4 separate regions of the Homo sapiens genome follow, and all the other regions are linked to region 3. The links are contacts of gene promoters, found by promoter capture Hi-C in human tissues and cell types (Jung and others, 2019). All regions are on one chromosome and are shown on one strand. Each heading gives the region's core, a stretch centred on a gene start or on the middle of the fragment in contact. The rest is flanking DNA. Distances are from core to core; before and after follow the strand shown.

Region 1 (2,700 bases), core at 94-2,593, 130 kb before region 3:
TTCCCAGGTGCCACCTGTACCAGATCAGCCTGTCCGGGGCAATTTCAGCAGGGATGGTGGCTCAGATACAAAATCTACCACCTCACCTACAACAATAAGGACACTGTCTTCTACTGCACTTTATTTTATTGATTTATTTATTTTTGGAGACGAAGTCTCAATCTGTCACCCAGGCTGGAGTGCAGTGGTGGGATCTCAGCTCACTGCAACCTCCGCCTCCCAGGTTCAAGCAATTCTCCTGTCTCAGCCTCCCAAGTAGCTGGGATCACAGGCACCCGCCACCATGCCCGGCTAATTTTTGTATTTTTAGTAGAGATGGGGTTTCACCATGTTGGCCAGGCTGGTCTCGAACTCCTGACCTCAAGTGATCCGCCCACCTCGGCTTCCCAAAGTGCTGAGATGACAAGTGTGAGCCACCGCGCCCGGCCAGTCTTCTATTGCACTGGGAGGCAGAGGTTGCAGTGAGCTGAGATCGCACCACAGCACTCCAGCCTGGGTGACAGAGTGAGACTGTCTCAAAGAAACAAGATGAGGATAACGATACCATGTCACAGGGTGGTTGTGAAAATGACATTAAATAACATGATGTAGGTTAAAGAACTGGGCACAGTATCAGGGCAGAAGGGTCCTTGGGAAAGCTCAGCTGAAGCCGAGTGGGTGTCGTAGGCAACGGGAAAGTAGACACCTTCAGGGTCCAGGTGACCCCAGCTGATCCAGGAGATATTTAATACCATCGGGAGCCCCTCAGTCAGGGCCTGGCTCCAAGGGGAGGAATCCTGGAAACCAGCATCTTTCCCACGGGACAAGCCACCTCCTTCTCAGGGCCCCCCATTCTTTGATTGATGGAGCAGAGGTTGGGGAGCCAGGACAGCTCAGTGGTCAAGGGCAGAGGCTTTGGAATCACACTCGGGTTCCATTCCTGAGATTAGCACTTCGGGAATGTGACCTTAGCCATGTGACCTTGGGCAAGCTACTTAGCCATTCAGAGCCTCAGTTTTCTCATCTCTAAAATGAGGATAAAAACAAGATCTATACCTCATGAAGCTTTTGCGAGGTTACAATGAGGAAATATATGCTATGCAAGGCACCCAAAGCTGGCGCTAACAAAACGGCAGCTATTATCATTATTCCCCTGCTCTCCTTCCTGAGTACCAAGAACCCTTAGGGACCTCCCAGCCCTTAAAAAACAAACCAGGGCTTTGGCAATTTGCAGTGAGTTAAGACTACAGCAAGCTTTGTCAGCTAACTCTGCTGTTCATCAGTCAGCCTCCATTCAGCACAGGCTGGTGGACTAGTTACGACTTAAATTCTTTTTTTTTTTGGAGACAGAGTCTTGCTCTGTCTCCCACGCTAGAGTACAATGGCACAATCTTGGCTCACTGCAACCTCCACCTCCCCGGTTCAAGCAATTCTCCTGCCTCAGTCTCCTGAGTAGCTGGGATTACAGGTGCCCGCCACCACGCCCGGATAATTTTGTATTTTTAGTAGAGGTAGGGTTTCACCATGTTAGCCAGGATGGTCTCAAACTCCTGACCTCAGGTGATCCACCTGCCTCGGCCTCCCAAAGTGCTGGGATTACAGGTGTGAGCCACTGCGCCCGGCCAGTTCATGACTTGAATCCTAAGATAACTGTTCCAATCTTCACTGCACACTGGAATCCCTGGGGAGTTGGGAAGCTCTCTGGCTCCTACCCCAGGGATTGCTACTGAATTGGTATGGAATGGCCTGGGCATCAGGCCTGTTAAAAGCTCCCCAGGTGACTCTAATGTATAGGAAGGCCAAGAGCCGCCAGGTTCAGACAGGGACACTGAAGTGAGCGTCTTTACAACCAAATGGAACTAAGACTCTTGCTGGGCACAGTGGCTCACGCCTGTCATCCCAGCACTTTGGGAGGCCGAGGCAGGCGGATCACCTGAAGTCGAGAGTTCGAGACCAGCCTGGCCAACATAGAGAAACCCCGTCTCTACTAAAAATATAAAAATTAGCCGGGTATGGTGACAGATGTCTGTAATCCCAGCTACTCGGGGGGCTGAGGCAGGAGAATCGCTTGAACCCGGGAGGCGGATGTTGCAGTGAGCTGAGATCACACCATTGCACTCCAGCCTGGGCGATAAGAGCGAAACTCCATCTCAAAAAAAAAAAAAAAATACTCTGAAGCAGCCTATGAAGCCATCAGCCAGGCGCGTGATCAATTCAGCCAGCACAGGGAAGGCTGCCCGGAAGAGGCAGGGCTTGTCCTCAGTCTTGGGGACTGTGGGATTCGCTGGGGAAGAGAAGACAAGACGGACGGAAAGGGCTTTGCTCTGATTGTGAACCACAGACAGGCAGGGGTGGGTGGGGGTCGGCCCCTGTCTCATTCACTCAGGACCCTCGGCCTGGCCTGTAGCAGCCACTGGGAGCACAGACAGCGCCACCCTCACCCCGAGGCCTGGAGCCCCTCATTAGCCCAGCAAAGCGGCAACTGGAGGCCGGGCAGAGGCTGTGGGGCAGCTCACTCCTGGGAGGAAGCTCACTCCTGGGGGACAGCTCGCTCCTGGGGGACAGCTCATTCCTGGGGACAGCTCGCTCCTGGGGGACAGCTCATTCCTGGGGGGCAGCTCGCTCCTGGGGGGCAGCTCGCTCCTGGGGGACAGCTCATTCCTGGGGGACAGCTCGCTCCTGGGGGGCAGCTCGCTCCTGGGGGACAGCTCATTCCTGGGG
Region 2 (2,700 bases), core at 144-2,643, 170 kb after region 3:
AGGATTTCGGCTTCCCCAAGTTTTGGGATCATAGGTGTGGGACACCACGACGGAGTCTCGCTCTGTCCCCCAGGCTGGCGTGCAGTGGCACAATCTCGACTCAGTGCAAGCTTCGCCTCCCGGGTTCACGTCATTCTCCTGCCTCAGCCTCCCGAGTAGCTGGGACTACAGGCACCCGCCACCATGCCTGGCTAATTTTTTTTGTATTTTTAATAGAGACGGGGTTTTACCGTGTTAGCCAGGATGGTCTCGATCTCCTGACCTAGTGATCCACCCGCCTCGGCCTCCCAAAGTGCTGGGATTGATTACAGGTGTGGGCCACTGCACCCGGCCACAAAGTTTCTAATTAGGAATGCAAACCTTTAACTCCCACTCGGCTAAGCACCCAAAACAGCAAACTATTTTCATTGGATTTTTCACATTATGGTTTCCTGAAGAAGTAATAAACAACTCTCTAATAATAACAACTAGTAAACATTCTCCATAGAGAATGAGTTTTAGCTGGGCACGGTTGCTCACATCTCTAACCCCAGCACTTAGGGAAGCTGAGGCAGGTGGATCCCTGGAGCTCAGGAGTTCAAGACCAACCCGGGCAACATGGCTGTCACTGCAAAAAACTTAAAAAATTAGCTGGGCATGGTGGCACACTTTTGTAGTCCCAGCTACTCAGGACACTCAGGTAGGGGGATGGCTTGAGCCTGGAAGGTCAAGGCTACAGTGAGCCATGATCACGCCACTGCACTCCAGCCTGGGCAACAGAGCAAGACTCTGTGTCAAACAAACAAAAAAAAGAAAATGAATTTTGTTGGGCGTGGTGCCTCACACCTGTAATCCTAGAACTTTAGGAGGCTGAGGTGGGAGGATCACTTAAGTGCAGGATTTTGAGACCAGCGTAGGCAACACAGCCAAGACCTCATCACTACAAAAATTATTTAAAAATTAGCCAGGTTGGACAGGCGCGGTGGCTCACGCCTGTAATCCCAGCACTTTGGGAGGCTGAGGCAGGTGGATCACAAGGTCAGGAGATCAAGACCATCCTGGCTAACACGGTGAAACCCCGTCTCTACTAAAAATACAAAAAATTAGCTGGGCGTGGTGGTGGGCACCTGTAGTCCCAGCTGCTAGGGAGGCTGAGGCAGGAGAATGGCATGAACCCAGGAGGCAGAGCTTGCGGTGAGCCGAGATCGCGCCACTGCACTCCAGCCTGGGCGACAGAGCGGGACTCTGTCTCAAAAAAAAAAAAAAAATTAGCCAGGCATAGTGGTGCATGCCTGCAGTTGCAGCTACTTGGGAGGCTGAGGTGAGAGATCGCTTGAGCCTAGGAGTTTGTGAGTACACTGAGCCATGATCGTGTCAACGCACTCCAGCCTGGGGGACCGAGCAAGACCTTGACTCTTAAAAAAAGAAAAAATAAATGTTTGAAAAAAAATGACTGGGCACAGTGGTTTACGTCTGTAATCCCAGCACTTTGGGAGGCCAAGGCAGGAGGACTGATTGAGGCCAGTAGTTCAAGACCAGCCTGGGCAATAAAGTGAGACCCAATCTCCTAAAAAAACAAAAAACAAGCCGGGCACGTGGCTCACACCTGTAATCCCAGCACTTTGGGAGGCCGAGGCGGGTGGATCATGAGGACAGGAGAGCGAGACTTCGTCTCAAAAACAAACAAACAAACAAACAAAAAAACCATTAGCCAGGCAAGGTGGTGCATGTCTGTTAGTCCCAGCTTCTCGAGAAGCTGAGGTGGGAGAATCGCCTGAGCCCAGGGAGTCAAGGCTACCGTGAGTCGTGATCATGCCACTGCATTCCAGCCTGGGCAAAAGAGAGAGACCTTGTCTCAAAAAACCTAAAATCCAAATGAGTTTTGTGAGTTTTTGGCTTTGTTGTTGTCTTGTGACAGAGTGGTCTGGCTCTGTCACCCAGGCGGGAGTGCAGACCTCAGCTGAGTGCAACCTCTACCTCCCAGGCTGAAGCCATCCTCTTACCTCAGCCTCCTGAGTAGCTGGGCCTACAGGCACGCATCACCACGCCCAACTAATTTTTTGTAGTAATGGGATTTCGCCATGTTGCCCAAGCCAGTCTCGAATTCCTGAGCTCAAGTTATCCATCTGCCTTGGCCTCCCAAAGTGCTAGTATTACAGGCGTGAGCCACCACGCCTGGCCTTGGCTTTGTTTTTTGAGACAGGAGACTCCCTATGTGGCCCAGGCTCATCTTAAACTCCTGGGTCCAGCGATCCTCTCACCTTAGTCTCCTGAGTACATGATTTTGTTATTTCTTTTTAGAGACAGGGTCTAACTCTGTTGTCCAAGCTGGAGTGCAGTAGTGTGATCACAGCTCACCGCAGTCTCAAACTCCTGGGCTCAAGATATTCTCCCACCTCAGCCTTCTGAGTAGCTGGGACTAAAGGTGCGGGTGGCATTGCACCCAGCTGATTTTTTTTTTTGAGATGGAGTCACATTCTTGTCACCCAGGCTGGAGTGCACTGGAGCCATCTTGGCTCACGGCAACCTCCACCTCCCGGGTTCAAGCAACTCTCCTGCCTCAGCCTCCCGAGTAGCTGGGACTACAGGCCCGCGCCACCACACCCGGCTAATTTTTGTATTTTTAGTAGAGACAAGGTTTCACCATCTTGGCCAGGCTGGTCTACAACTCCTGACCTCGTGATCCATCCACCTCGGCCTCCCAAAGTGCTGGGATTACAG
Region 3 (2,700 bases), core at 99-2,598:
AGACAATCACAGAAGTAAATACATACACTCTGCTTCCTAATGCCTTATTATTTTCTTTTATGGAGAAATTCACAGTTTGAAATAATGGGGTTATTGGCAATGCTCTTTTGGCGAGATGGATGTGAACCACACACCCATTCCAATGCCATAGGCCTTGGCATCTTAGAGGCATTTGGATTGTGACTGGGAATGAGTGGCCTTCAGGCGCTCCAAATAACTCAGCTGTGGATGCCGGAAATTCTACTGGGGGTCTTTCTTTGGGAATAAACATCATCTTTTTTCTGAGACCCTCTTTCAAATGCAAATCCCTGGGGGAAGAGGACAGAGGCTGCTCATTGAGTTCATAACCTGGCAGGGCTGTGTCACAAGATGGGGCTGCCCGAGGGCTCTGGACCCCAAAGATGCCCCTGATGTGGACCCAGGGCTGCAAAGGGATCTTCCCCGTCACCCTCTGCTGCTGACTCATCCCAGCTCTGCCTGCAGAAGGGGAGTCAAAGGGCAGTGGAGGGAGAGTCAGGCCCAACCAAAACCCGAACCCCAATTGCAGCCAGCCGCCCTCCATAGCTGAAAAAGCCGGAAGCTCTGGGTCAGCTTTACCTGCAGGGCCCTGCGCCTCCCATATGAGTCCTGCCGGGACACTCATGCTTTTCCTCAGTGACATCTCTGTGGTTGCCCACGGGACTTGACAAGAACTTTCAAGGTTTTGTTGTTGTTTTTGTTGTTGTTTTTCTGAGACGGAGTCTCGTTCTGTCTCCCAGGCTAGAGTGCAGTGGTGCGATCTCGGCTCACTGCAACCTCCAGCTCCTGGGCTCAAGCCATTCTCCTGCCTCAGCCTCCCGAGTAACTGGGATTACAGGCGCCTGCCACCACGCCCGGCTAATTTTTGTGTTTTTAGTAGACGGGGTTTTATATACTCTGTTGGCCAGGCTGGTCTCGAACTCCTGAACTCAAGTGATCCGCCCGCCTCGGCCTCCCAAACTGCTGGGATGACAGGCGTGAGCCCCAGTGCCCGGCCCTCTGCCTCTTTTTATTCCTATCAGCTCTCCTGCTAGAAGCCAAACTTAGCACCTTATCTGGGAATGGGGAGGAAGAATGTGGAACCCAGACACCCCACAGCGGCCCCAGAGCTAGGCAGGGCAAGGTCCCCGGGGCAGCGTGGCCGGGCTGCCCGTCTGGTCCCCGCTTACAAGAACCTGCAAGCTTCCCTCCTTGCTTTCCTTCTTCCCCTCGGTTCCTCCCCCGCCGACCTACCTGGAGGCCGATAATAAAGCAGGAGGAGGGAGATGGATGGACGGGAGGGCGGGGCGCCGCGTGGTGCCATAAAGCCCAGCTGGAAGGGGCCTGTCTCGGGAGTGTCCAGCCCCAGGAGCCGGGGACCGTCCGCGTCGCGAGCCGGGCCAAGGCAGTGGGCAGAGGGCAGAGGGCAGAGGGCCGGGGCTGGGGCAGAGGGCGAGTGCCCGGGAAGGCCATGCTGCGGGGCGCGCCAGGACTAGGCCTCACGGCGCGGAAGGGGGCCGAGGACTCTGCGGAGGACTTGGGGGGCCCCTGCCCCGAGCCCGGGGGCGATTCGGGGGTGCTGGGGGCGAACGGCGCTTCCTGCAGCCGGGGCGAGGCGGAGGAGCCGGCGGGCAGGAGGCGCGCGCGGCCGGTGCGGTCCAAGGCGCGGCGCATGGCCGCCAACGTGCGGGAGCGCAAGCGCATCCTAGACTACAACGAGGCCTTCAACGCGCTGCGCCGGGCGCTGCGGCACGACCTGGGCGGCAAGAGGCTCTCCAAGATCGCCACGCTGCGCAGGGCCATCCACCGCATCGCCGCGCTCTCCCTGGTCCTGCGCGCCAGCCCCGCGCCCCGCGGGCCCTGCGGACACCTGGAGTGCCACGGCCCGGCCGCGCGCGGGGACACCGGGGACACAGGCGCCAGCCCCCCGCCGCCTGCAGGGCCCAGCCTCGCGCGCCCAGACGCCGCCCGCCCCTCGGTGCCGTCCGCGCCCCGCTGCGCCTCGTGCCCCCCGCACGCGCCCCTGGCACGGCCCAGTGCGGTGGCCGAGGGGCCGGGCCTAGCACAGGCCTCCGGGGGAAGCTGGCGCCGCTGTCCGGGGGCTTCCTCTGCCGGGCCGCCTCCCTGGCCGCGGGGCTACCTGCGATCCGCCCCCGGGATGGGCCATCCGCGCTCCTGACCGGCCTCGAGGCACCGGCTGGGCTGCAGGGAGGCCGGGCTGGCAGCTGGACTATAAAACCCGGGACTGCAAAGGCGTCTTGGACAGAGCAGAACTGGACCGGCTGAGACCTGGCGTGGAAGAGAAGGAGCTCGCCAGAGAGAAGGAGCTCCGGGACCCGGGGTTGCGCCCCCACATCCCAGCCTGGGGCAGAGAGAAGGAGCTCCGGGGCCTGGGGCTGCGCCCCCACATCCCAGCCTAGGGAGGCAGTTGCCAGAAAGGCTCAGGATCCTGAACTCATCTTGGACTCGAACTCGTCTTGGAATGCCGCCTTCGCACTCCTGCGCCTCCGAGCCCTGTGTGTTCTCGATGCTTTTAGGAGAGTGAGGGCTTTGAGGCAGGAGGTGTGGGAGCGTGGGAATGCGGGTGGGGCCTGCTGTGGTCTCGTGGGCACATGAGTGCGGAGTCCCCTTCCCTGCCTGCGCTGCTGCCCAAGCCTGATCCGGGAGAGGCAGGATCCGGGAGAGGCAGGCAGGGGCAGCAGC
Region 4 (2,700 bases), core at 44-2,543, 210 kb after region 3:
AGCACACACCGCGATGCCCTCTGCCTCGTACTCCTCCTGCTCCGACTTGAGCGTGAGCTCGATGAAGAGCTGCTGCAGCTTCTCGTTGCAGTAATTGATGCAGAACTGCTCAAAGCTGTAAGGAAGGAGAAGAGCCCACAGTGGCTCAGTGGGGACACAGGACCAGGAGAGGGGAAAAGCTGGACGACGCCCCTGAGCACAGGAGGTGAGAAACACAGAGACAGTCCCCGGCTGGCTGGGGAGTCACAGGGCAGGAATGAGAGGCTGGAGGACAGAAGAGAGGGAGCAGGACAGGAGACCGGGAGGAGAGACGGGGGAAAGATGGCACCGACCTGTTATGCTGAAACACTTCAAAGCCATAAATATCCAGGAGCCCGAGAACCGTGGTGCTCCGCCAGCTGGGGCTCTCCACGTCCTAGGGCAGTCATTCAACCGAAGGCGTGGGCCCCCTGCGCGTGCCAGCCCCACCCTGCAGCACCCCCCGCCTCGCCGACGGCCCTCCCTTCTGCCTTGGGAGCAGTGTGGACCGAGCCCTCACCTTGGAGGCCAGCGACCTGTTGATCTTCCCGACGAGCCAGGTAAAAGTGCGGCTGTACACAGCCTTGGCGAGGGCGTCTCGTGCGTACGCGGCCTGCTCCAGGTTCAGCGGGCTCAGGAGCTGTGGACGCAGCGTGAGACAAGGAGATGAATGCCACAGAGCCTGTGCATCCCACCTGCTCCCAGGCTCAGGCAGACCAGGAAGCCGCCACCACTCTGCACTCCCAGCTCCAGCAAGCCTGCAGTATGGGGAGGGGTGCTGGTAGTGGGACCTCAGGGAGGACAGGTGGCCACCCCAGAGGGAAGGTGGTAGAGGGACAGGAGGCCTCCTTCCCGAGGTGGGAGTCTGGTTCTAGCCGGACTGTTACTCTCTTCCTATGTGACCCTGGCCAGCTCACTGTGCTGCTTCTTTTTTTTGAGACAGAGTCTAGCTCTGTTGCCGTGATCTCGGCTCACTGCAACCTCCACCTCCCGGGTTCAAGCGATTCTCCTGCCTCAGCCTCCCGAGTAGCTGGGATTACAGGCGCCCGCCACCATGCCCGGCTAATTTTTGTATTCTTAGTAGATGGGGTTTCACCATGTTGGCCAAGATGGTCTCGAACTCCTGACCTCAGGTGACCTGCCCACCTCAGCCTCCCCAAGTGCTGGGGTTACAGGCGTGAGCCACGGCGCTCGGCTCTCACTCTGCTTCTCTGAGCAGCCTTCCTTCCATCCCTCCAGCATTGCTGAGGGAACCAGGCGAAGGGGAGTGATGGGAGTAGGGGCTGCCTTGGAACAGCTGCCCCTCCACACCCGAGGGCAAGGGCCCGGCCTCACCTCCTCCCCCTTGGCGATGATCTTCCTGTGTGTCAGGGCTTCTCGCAGCGTCGAGCCTTCCACGCTGAGGAGCTGCCAAGGGCAGGCGAGGACACGGTGAGGGTGCACCCCCAGCCCCCGCCCCCGCCGTCCTCCCGTCGCCCTCTGCCCGCCCCACTCACCCTGGTCAGATACTTGAGCTGGTTCTCGGTGGTGACCTGGGCATTGCTCTCCTCGTTGGCAGCAAAGTGGATGTTGCCCAAATGAAGGACGCTGGCCACGATGCTCAGCAGGTCCTGGGGGAGCAGGCCGGGGGCAGGAGGGGGTGAGAGGGGCCAGAGAGCCCCAAGAGGGCAACTAGCAGATGGCCATGCAGGGGTGGGTGGTGAAGTGTCGGAGAGAAGGGGCTGGAAGTGGGAATGGGTGTTAAAGGTGGAAGGTGATTCTGCGGGTGGGATGGGCACGGTGGCTGACGCCTGTAATCCCAGCACTTTGGGAGGCTGAGGCGGGAGGATCATCTGAGGTCAGGAGTTCGAGACCAGCCCAGCCAACATGGCAAAACCCCATCATTATTAAAAATACAAAAATTAGCCAGGTGTGGTGGCAGGTGTCTGTAATCCCAACTACTCAGGAGGCTGAGGCATGAGAATCACTTTAACCTGGAGGCAGAGGTTGCAGTGAACTGAGATCGCACCACTGCACTCCAGCCTGGGCGAAAGAGCGAGACTCCATCTCAAAAAAAAAAAAAAAAAAAAAAAAGGGATTACTGGCCCACGCCTGTAATCCCAGCACTTTGAGAGGCTGAGGCAGGCGGATCACCTGAGGTCGGGAGTTCGAGACCAGGCTGGCCAACATGGTGAAACTCCGTCTCTACTAAAACTACAAAAAATTAGCTGGGCGTGGTGGCGGGCGCCTGTAATCCCAGCTACTCGGGAGGCTGAGGCAGGAGAATTGCTTGAACCCAGGAGGCGGAGGTTGCAGTGAGCTGAGATTGCACCACTGCACTCCAGCCTGGGCAACAAGAATGAAACTCCGTCTCAAAAAATAAAAAACAAAAAAAAAAGGAGATTTTGGGGGTGTGACAGGAGGAAAGCGAGGGTCCCGGAAGAGGCCTCACCTCCACTTCATCCTCGGTGAAATCAATGACTGTCAGAGCCTTCCTGACGACCTTCCAGTCACTCTTGTCGTTGATGGAGGAGACTTTGGCACACTGGCCCTGGAGGAAGGGCACAGCTGGGTTGCCAGCCCTGGCACCAGATCCCTGGGTGGCACCTGCCCTCCCTGCCAGCCACTCACCTTCACCAGGTACAGGTAGCTCTGGGGGTTCCGTTCCAAGCCCAGCCTGCGAAGAGTCTCCTCCTCGCCCCC

The links. The method cuts DNA at HindIII sites, captures the fragments that hold promoters and counts their contacts. A contact is called where the count stands out against the background at its distance.
Region 1: a fragment that was not itself captured here is called in contact with the fragment with the promoter of BHLHA9 in region 3 in 2 of the 25 tissues and cell types used here (adrenal gland and mesendoderm cells).
Region 2: a contact is called between a fragment that was not itself captured here and the fragment with the promoter of BHLHA9 in region 3, in 1 of the 25 tissues and cell types used here (stomach).
Region 4: a fragment that was not itself captured here is called in contact with the fragment with the promoter of BHLHA9 in region 3 in 1 of the 25 tissues and cell types used here (spleen).

Annotation. Positions count from the first base shown.
Region 1 is chr17:1,140,455-1,143,154 of GRCh38, forward strand. All of the region lies in intron 1 of ABR (ABR activator of RhoGEF and GTPase), which reads right to left. Among named protein-coding and RNA genes, the nearest start is that of ABR, 38 kb to the right of the region's middle. The HindIII fragment of the contact is 6,228 bases long and covers 1-2,700 here.
Region 2 is chr17:1,439,068-1,441,767 of GRCh38, forward strand. The region is part of intron 1 of CRK (CRK proto-oncogene, adaptor protein); the gene reads right to left. Among named protein-coding and RNA genes, the nearest start is that of CRK, 16 kb to the right of the region's middle. The HindIII fragment of the contact is 5,312 bases long and covers 1-2,700 here.
Region 3 is chr17:1,269,096-1,271,795 of GRCh38, forward strand. BHLHA9 (basic helix-loop-helix family member a9) reads left to right here and starts at 1,349. Exons shown (of 1, transcript NM_001164405.2): 1 at 1,349-2,700. The coding sequence starts at 1,469. The coding sequence ends at 2,176. RefSeq lists enhancers at 1-146, 1,751-2,501. The HindIII fragment of the contact is 29,201 bases long and covers 1-2,700 here.
Region 4 is chr17:1,478,078-1,480,777 of GRCh38, forward strand. MYO1C (myosin IC) reads right to left here. Exons shown (of 32, transcript NM_001080779.2): 6 at 2,629-2,700; 7 at 2,450-2,548; 8 at 1,515-1,628; 9 at 1,354-1,425; 10 at 539-658; 11 at 333-415; 12 at 10-115. Among named protein-coding and RNA genes, the nearest start is that of MYO1C, 13 kb to the right of the region's middle. The HindIII fragment of the contact is 9,477 bases long and covers 1-2,700 here.